3 separate regions of the Homo sapiens genome follow, and all the other regions are linked to region 2. Evidence: promoter capture Hi-C in human tissues and cell types (Jung and others, 2019). All regions are on one chromosome and are shown on one strand. The core of a region is centred on a gene start or on the middle of the fragment in contact, and the rest is flanking DNA. Distances in the headings are between cores, read along the strand shown.

Evidence for each region. The method cuts DNA at HindIII sites, captures the fragments that hold promoters and counts their contacts. A contact is called where the count stands out against the background at its distance.
Region 1: a fragment that was not itself captured here is called in contact with the fragment with the promoter of PAK2 in region 2 in 1 of the 25 tissues and cell types used here (dorsolateral prefrontal cortex).
Region 3: a fragment that was not itself captured here is called in contact with the fragment with the promoter of PAK2 in region 2 in 2 of the 25 tissues and cell types used here (dorsolateral prefrontal cortex and hippocampus).

The regions. Positions count from the first base shown.
Region 1 is chr3:197,264,074-197,266,901 of GRCh38, reverse strand. The region is part of intron 4 of DLG1 (discs large MAGUK scaffold protein 1); the gene reads left to right. Among named protein-coding and RNA genes, the nearest start is that of MIR4797, 28 kb to the left of the region's middle. The HindIII fragment of the contact is 3,222 bases long and covers 1-2,828 here.
Region 2 is chr3:196,738,470-196,741,200 of GRCh38, reverse strand. It overlaps PAK2 (p21 (RAC1) activated kinase 2), which reads right to left and starts at 1,344. Exons shown (of 15, transcript NM_002577.4): 1 at 1,044-1,344. RefSeq lists a silencer at 764-1,553. The HindIII fragment of the contact is 11,501 bases long and covers 1-2,731 here.
Region 3 is chr3:197,307,708-197,310,504 of GRCh38, reverse strand. No RefSeq gene overlaps it. Among named protein-coding and RNA genes, the nearest start is that of DLG1, 10 kb to the right of the region's middle. The HindIII fragment of the contact is 4,492 bases long and covers 1-2,797 here.

The sequences.
Region 1 (2,828 bases), core at 164-2,663, 530 kb before region 2:
CTGCAAATATTTTTTCTCTTCCTTCCCCTTTGCTTTCAGGGATTCCAGTACTTGTATATTGGTTTGGTTGACTTTGTCTGCAGTTCACTGATATGATTAATCTTTTTTCAGTCTTTTTCGTTGGTATGTTAAATTTTAGACAATTGCTGTTGCTATGTCTTCAAGTTCATTAATCTTCTCAAGTATCTAGTATACTATTAATCTCAGTCAGTTTTTTATTTCAGACAGTTTACCTCTAGAAGCTTGATTTAGTTTCTCTTCTCTTCTCCTCTCCCTCTCCTTCTTTTTGGAGACAGGGTCTTGCTGCGTCGCCCAGGCTGCAGTGCAGTGATGTGGTCATGGCCCACTGCATCCTCAGCCTCCTGGCTTCAAGCAGTCCTGCTGCCTCAGCCTCCCCAAGTACCTGGGGCTACACATGTATACCACCAGGCTGGGCAATTTTTTTTTTTAATTTTTTGGCAGAGATGGGGTCTTGCTGGATTGCCCAGGTTGGTCTCGATAGTTTCGTTTTTATTTTTGTCTAATTAACACACTCTATCCTTCTCTGTCTTCATAAACATAAGGGACAGAGTTAAAGTAACTTTTAAAATGTTTTTGTCTACTGATTCTATTATGTGTCATTTCTGGGTCAGTTTTTATTGATTGATTTTTTTTCTCTTCTCTGGATCGTGTTTCCTTGCTTCTTTACATGCTTGATAATTTGGATGAATTTGGCAGACGTTGTGAATTTTACCTTTTGGGGGCCTAGATATTTTTTTATTCTTTTAAATATTCTTGAGCTTTGTTTTGGGATGTAGTTAAATGACTTGGAAAGAGTTTGATGCCATTCAGACTGCTTTTTTGTTTGTTTTTGAGACGGAGTCTTGCCCCGTTGCCCAGGCTGGAGTGCCGTGGCATGATCTCGGCTCACTGCAACCTCCGCTTCCTGGGTTCAAGTGATTCTCCTACCTCAGCCTCCTGAGTAGCTGGGATTACAGGCATGTGCCACCACGCCTGGCTAATTTTTGTATTTTTGGTAGAGACGGGGTTTCACCATGTTGGTCAGGCTGGTCTTGAGTTCCTGACCTCGTGATCCACTCTCCTTGGCCTCCCAGAGTGCTGGGATTACAGGTGTGAGCCACCGCGCCTGGCTGCTTTTAAGCTTTTTCAGTGGGACTGAGCAACATTTGGTTGTAGAAGGCTATCCCCACTGCCCAGTATATTATGAGTTTTCATTATTCTTGGCCTTGCGTGAGCTCTGGGTTTTGTTCCATTTGCTGCTTTCTAAGATTTTTTCCTCACCTTGAAGTTTCCTTACATGCATGTACTGATCAAAACTAATCTGAAGACTCGAGGGGAACTCTGCAGATCTCTGGAGCTTTTTCTGTCCCGCTCTCTCCTTTCTGGTACTCTTACCTGTGAGTTTTAGCTCTGTTTATTCTCAACGCTTTCTCCTCAACTTAAGGCTGCTGGGTTTCGTTGAGTTTCCCCCTTCTGCTACAGCCAGGAAACTTTTTCTGGGCATTTACAGGACTCACCTCATTAGTTTCTCTTCTCACAGGGTCCAGTGTCTGAAAGTCAGTCTTTTTTTTTATTCCATTATGGTTGGCAGCAATTGCTTGTTTATGGAAAGCCATTGGTATTCTAAAATACTGTTAATTATCTTATGTGCCTATTAGGTGAAGTGTTGCCATCCCAAAAGGCTTATATTTCAAGTCCTTCTAAAGTAGCTCATATTACAGGGTGATTTCTAAATTACTTTTAACAGCAAATGACCATCTGAAGAGAACACATAGGCTTGAAATGTACCTTACTCAGTGCCAGTTGGGTACTTACAGATACTTACAGAAGATGCAGTTAGTGTAGAATTTAACACAAATTGAATAATCATTCCCTGAGTACAGCCTTAAAACCTGTAAGTATTAGATCTATGCAAGCTTTTTTGAAGGATTATTAGGTATATTAAAAAATAATATAGTAAGGGGTTAGTTACATCATGAAGGTTATAAATACACGCCTACAGTACAGGGGAAAGTGGCTTCCTCTTCTGTGAATGAGCACTACAAGTTGAGTGTTCCTTATCCAAAATACTTGGGACCAGAAGCGTTTTGGATTTTGGATTTATTTGGATTTTGATATTTGCATTATACTTGTTGGTTGAATATCCCTGATCTGAAAATTCAAAATCTGGAACGTGGCTAGGCACAGTGGCTCACCCTTGTAATCCCAGCACTTTGGGAGGCCGAGGCAGGTGGATCGCCTGAGGTCAGGAGTTTGAGACCAGCCTGGCCAACATGTCAAAACCCCGTCTCTACTAAAGATACAAAAATTAGCTGGGCGTGGTGGCAGGCATCTGTAATCCCAGCTACTCGGGAGGCTGAGGCAGGAGAATCATCGCTTGAACCTGGGAGGCAAAGGTTGCAGTAAGTTGAGATTGTGCCATTGGACTCCAGCCTGGGTAACAAGAGTGAAACTCCATCTCAAAAAACAAAAGATAACAAAATCTGAAATGCTCCAACGAGTATTGTCTTTGAGTGTTATGCTGGCACTTAAAAGATTTTGGATTTTGGAGCATTTGGATTGTGGATTTTTGGATTAGGGATACCCAATCTGTAGTAGTAATTAGGGATAAATGGTCAAGTGACGTTGTAGTTCAGAAAGGGCCATATCTCAAACAACTTAAACCGTATAAAACTGATGTTTGAGGTCACAGAGATTAGATCATTAAAAAGTGGTTGTGGTTATGATGACCCTAGACATCGGAGATGAATGTGAGGAGTTTAACTAAAATTTGTTCTTTGAAATGTGACTGGAATAATATATTAGACATACTATTTTAATGTGTTGTT
Region 2 (2,731 bases), core at 95-2,594:
GGAAAAAACGTGACGTGCACAACCTTGATCCAAAACACAGCTCTTCGTAGTTTAATTTTAGGCCTAACCATTTTGTCTTTTTATAAAGGTTAAAAAAGAAAACAAAGAAAGGACACATCGCCTGTAACGCAGAAGTGAGATAATGATATCAACCGGAGTTCGTTATTTATCAAGGGACAACAAATCACGCTCACACTGCCCAGGGAGAGTACTACTAAAATTAAGATACAAGGATGGGTACAACCTCACACCCACTGACGATGACACGCTTCTGTTCTTGGATGACTTATCTTTAAAGAATTAGTTAAAAGGTTGAGTGGCAACGTTTTGTGTTTGTGCGTGCGTGTGTTTCCAAGAGAGCCAAACATGGTGAAAAACCAATCTTAACTTCACCTAAGTTATCTAAAGAAGCAAATTTCACCCCTAGGCTGAAGCTCAAACAGGAGCGAGGAGAAGCTCCGAAAGATCAGTTCGTAAGCGGTGGCCCTCAAGCGCCCGGGACGCTCTACGTTTTTACCAATGTGGAATGTGGAAAAGAGGTTACAGGCTGGAGCTGAGAAAACAGTCAAGCTACTCGCGACAATATTCCTGAGCAGTGAAACGGGTGAACAGAGAGCGAGCAAGCAGGGGCTGAGAATCAGTGAGAGGAAAAATCAAGGAACAAAACCGGAGAGTCTGGTCCAGCATTAAGAAAACGGAGCAAAGGAAGAGGGTGAAACGCGAGGGGAGGGAAGACCGAGAGTCGGCAGAGACCGTGGTGCCGCGAGGTTCAGAGCAGGGCTGGGTCCAGGAAGAGTCAGACCTCCGCAGCCCAGCGAGCTTCCCATTTCTGGCTAAAGCCAGCGAAGAAAACGGCCCTGGGGAGCAGACAATGAGCCACCGCCCCAGGAGCTGCGGCTCCCAGCACGCAGGTGGCGGCTCCCCGGCCCCGCGCGGGGCAGGTCGGCCGTCCCGGGCCGCTCCCGCCCGCCAGGCCACGGAGAAGGAAGGAGGAGGAAGAGACCCGGCCTGCGTCCCGCGCCGGCCGGCCTGTGTGCACTTACCCCGGGCAAGGCAAGGTCCCCGCCCCAGCGAGGCGCCTCGGTCAGAGCTCCCGGCGGGCTGCGGAGCCGCCCCGGGCTAGCGCGCGGTGCGGGGAGGGGAGGGGAGGGAAGGGGAAGCGGGGCGGGAAGAGACGCCGCGCTGGAGCAGCCGCTGCTACCGCTAGGCCCAGCGGCGGCGGAGTCCTGCGCACGCCAGGGAGGGGAGGGGAGGGAGCCTTCGGCAATGGCGACGGCCCGGGCCGGAGGGGAAGCGGAACAACCGCCGCCGCTGCGCGTGGCCACAACCCTGGGGGAGGAAGACGGCGGGGAGCGGGGCGGGGCGGGGCCAGAACCCAGAACCCCTCCCGCCCCGAAGCCGGAGCTCCCCGGGGCGGAGACGAGCGCCACCTCCCATGGGCAGGCCCGCGCGGGGGCCGCTGGGAGTAGTAGTTCGGTGATAGACGTTGCTTTTATTCCTTGGGTAGTCTTTGTATTGAGAGGAGCAGCCAGTCCCTCATTTAATTCAGCATTGTCTCCAAGCAGGTCTCTGCCGACGGAAGACGCTGACAGACGATTGCTGTTATACACATCTGCTCCGCGACATTTGTTTCTGGGAATTCATCCGTTATCCATTTTGCTTTTTTGCTTACAAATTCTTAACTAAAATTTTGCTGCTAAATTAAGTATCACCTCCTTGCAAATTAAGACTTCCCTATTTTATCCACGGAGGAGTTCATCAATGTTTCACTTATTCTACAAATATTTGAGTGTCTGATATGGACTAGACACTGTTAAGCATCAGAAATACAAGGGTGGTTCAGGTGCGGTGGCTCACGCCTGTAATCCCAGCACTTTGGGAGGCTGAGGCAGGCGGATCACCTGAGGTCGGGAGTTCGAGACCAGCCTGGCCAACACGATGAAACCCCGTTTCTACTAAAAATACAAAAATTAGCTGGGCATGGTGGCACGCATCTGTAGTCCCAGCTACTCGGGAGACTAAGGCAGGAGAATCGCTTGAACCCAGGAGGAGGAGGCTGCAGTGAGCCAAGATCGGGCCACTGCACTTCAGCGTGACAGAGTCGTCATGCCTCAAAAACAAAACAAAAAACACAAAAGAAATGCAAGGGTGAACACGATTCACCAAGCCTTTGTGGAGCTTATATGAGGACGCAGTAATTAAAGTAGTCACACCTGGTATAAGAAAAAACTTGGCGAGGTTACTTTGGATAGGGTGGTCGGAGAAGGCCTCGTTAAGGAGGTGACACTTAAGGCAAGAACAGAAAGAGACAGCAATAAGAAGCACCCAGAGAAAAGCAATACAGGCAGGAGAAGAAAGAAAAGGGCTTGCTACGGTCAGTTAAGAAGGCCTGTGTAGCTGGGGCCTAGAACAAGAAGGCGGTACTATTAAGAAAACACTACAGCAGACAAGATTCAGGTCATGAAAGATCCTGAATGCCATGGTAAAAAGTCTATATTACAAAAAACCATTAAAAGGCTTTTTTAAGCAGGAAAGCGATGTTACCTGGCTTACACTTTAAGATCACTAGACTGCAATGTGGATAATGGAGTATAGAGATGCAAGAATAGAAGGGAAATAAAGTAGGAAGGCAGTGGAAAGAAAGAGGAATTGTGCTTCTCTATCAATGTAGAGCAAAAAACTCAATTGATGCAGTGGGTACAGGAGAGAAAGGAATCAAGGAGCAACATGG
Region 3 (2,797 bases), core at 48-2,547, 570 kb before region 2:
GAGAGGCTGAGGCAGGAGAATCGCTTGAACCCAGGAGGCGGAGGTTGCAGTGAGCCAAGATCCCTCCATAGCACTCCAGCCTGGGCGACAGAGTGAGACTCCAACTCAAAAAATAAAAAATTTAAAAAAAAATTTTTTAAAGCAATCTTCTCCTAAGGAATGGTGATTTCTGGAGTAAAAACTTTCTCTGAATAGGAGTTTCCCTTGCTCACTCCTGCACCAGCCTTCTCTCCATGACCAAATTCATAAGGCACTCAGCAAGACTCTGTGCTCAGAGCCCAATTGCAACACACAGTACAATTATGCTGACCATGCCAAATACTTTGGCTTTGGAGAATAGATCTATTAACCCCAGCAACGTGGTTGTGTTCCTCAAGCGATCCTAGCCTAAGAAAAGACATGTGAATAGCCTGACCTCAGAGTCACCCTGGCCTGAGCTTGCCCTCAACCTGATCTGAACTTCCTGGCACTTGGGACCAGAATAATAGCAGTCACACCTGAGTTTCCAGTATAAGGTCACAATGCAAAGAAGAGAATCAAAAACACTGGTCCGAGAAGATCTTCCAAATCCCTTCCTAAATGAAGTGGTTAGATCAGAGATTTATGTTTGAGTTTTTATTCTCTCCTGATTTGTTCACAATTAACTTGCAAAGCTGTGTTAATAGGCAGCTTCATGAACAGAGATCCCAGAGGTTAGAGACCAATAAGAATTGTACAGTATTGCATCATTTCCTTGGGAAATTCTTCAAATTAAGCCACTAGCTGCATTCTTTTCTGGCTCAATTTAGGGTCACCAAACCATAGAAAAGAATGATTCACCAAACAAACTTTTGCTTTTCCTTTTCTGGTGCTTCATTTAACCGCTTTATGCCTCAGAGTAAAGCTATTATAATGGCATTATCCTTCTAATGAGGAACAGTGCAATGCTTTCCTGATGTTAATACCCAGAATTATGCAGTGTTTAAAAGCCACCGTGACTTTAGGGAATACTCACTAAGTTTTCTATTGCAAATACCCTAGTCATATTGAAAATGAATGAGTGTAATTCTTTTGGTGTTTTTAAAAAACGTACAATTCTTTTAATAAATCATAGTTCCCAAAAGGAATAAGAATGGTTCATTAGCAGTACTAATGAAAATTCCATCTTCAGTAAAACTTAGCAGAATATCATTCCCTGTAACAAAATGTTTTCAGACACTTTGTTTGCCAACTTTATTAATGGAGAACTTTGTGGTCTAGATTAGAAAACTGAAGATAATTGAGAGAAAGAGAAAGAAAGAGAAACCATCCTAGACAAGCAGTTATATGTATCATTTAAAAAATAATGGCTCAAACAATAGTGTCACAAATCTTCAGAGGTAATGAGAAATTTTTAAAAAAATTAAAAAGTGGCATAAAAAACATTGTTCTTAGTAAAATTCTTTTCCAGGCATTATATTTATTGCTGAGGTGTTCTCTTCATCCACTCGTTCGTGTTTAGCCAAGCAACCTTGAGAAGTTCGAAGTTGTTTGCCTGCTACAGACCATAAACAAAGACGGAAGATTTGAATTTTCAAGTCCCAAGGCTTCAGCTTTGCAATTTCCTTCTCAGACAAATTTTCCTAGAGAAATAGAATTTGTTTTAGTTCCTGGCTCATAGTAGTTGCATCATACAGATTAGTTTACTGAATGACCTGATGAATAAGGCTTTTATTAAAGTAGCAGACTAAACAATTTTTCTGTCTGTTTTTAGGAACTTTCCCTGTCTGTGGAAGTAAGTGATGACCACCTGAATGAGAACAGAGGCTATTTATACAGAGCTTGCTATAGCGAGGGAGTGAGCACCGTCACTTGCATTTGGCAGAGGCTCAAAGGCAGGCAAGGGAGTAGGAAAGCTTTATAATTAAAAGAAGAGAAAAGGAGATCCTCAGGTATGGAAAAGCTGGAGGCAAGATAACTAGAAGCAAGGCATTTTGTATGATTGATTTAGGGAGAATACTTGCCTTTCTCTGATTGGCCTTGAGTTGAAAGATGGTAAAAATTAGTGAAGCTGGGCCGGGCGTGGTGGCTTACGCCTGTAATCCCAGCACTTTGGGAGGCCGAGGCAGGCGGATCACGAGGTCAGGAGATCGAGACCATCCTGGCTAACATGGTGAAACCCCGTCTCTACTAAAAAATACAAAAAAAATAGCCGGGCGTGGTGGCGGGTGCCTGTAGTCCCAGCTCCTCGGGAGGCTGAGGCAGGAGAATGGTGTGAACCCGGGAGGCGGAGCCTGCAGTGATCCGAGATCGCGCCACTGCACTCCAGCCTGGGCGACAGAGTGAGACTCCGTCTCAAAAAAAAAAAAAAAAAAATAGGGAAGCTGGCAGTCATTGACCAAGTTCTGATTATTTTAGGCCAATTACTGCAGTGGTTGTTGTCTGATTTCCTGGGTTGCTTGCTGCAGAGGTTGTGGATCACAGAGTTCTGTTGTCATATATGGTCTGGTGTGTATTCAGTCTTTCATCATATATAGCAATTTCTTGAATTACTTTCTCATCCCAATCCCCCTTGACATTTCAAAATGTAGTGGCACGCAAAGTGACTTGCCAACTTGTTTAAATCCATTCGTTTTTGTTTGTTTGTTTTGAGAAGGAGTCTCGCTATGTCGCCCAGGCTGGAGTACAGTGGCGCAATAGCTCACTGCAACCTCTGCCTGCCGGGTTCAAGCAATTCTCATGCCTCAGCCTCCTGAGTAGCTGGGATTGCAGGTACCTGCCACCATGCCCGGTTCATTTTTGTATTTTTAGTAGAGACAGGGTTTCACGATGTTGACCA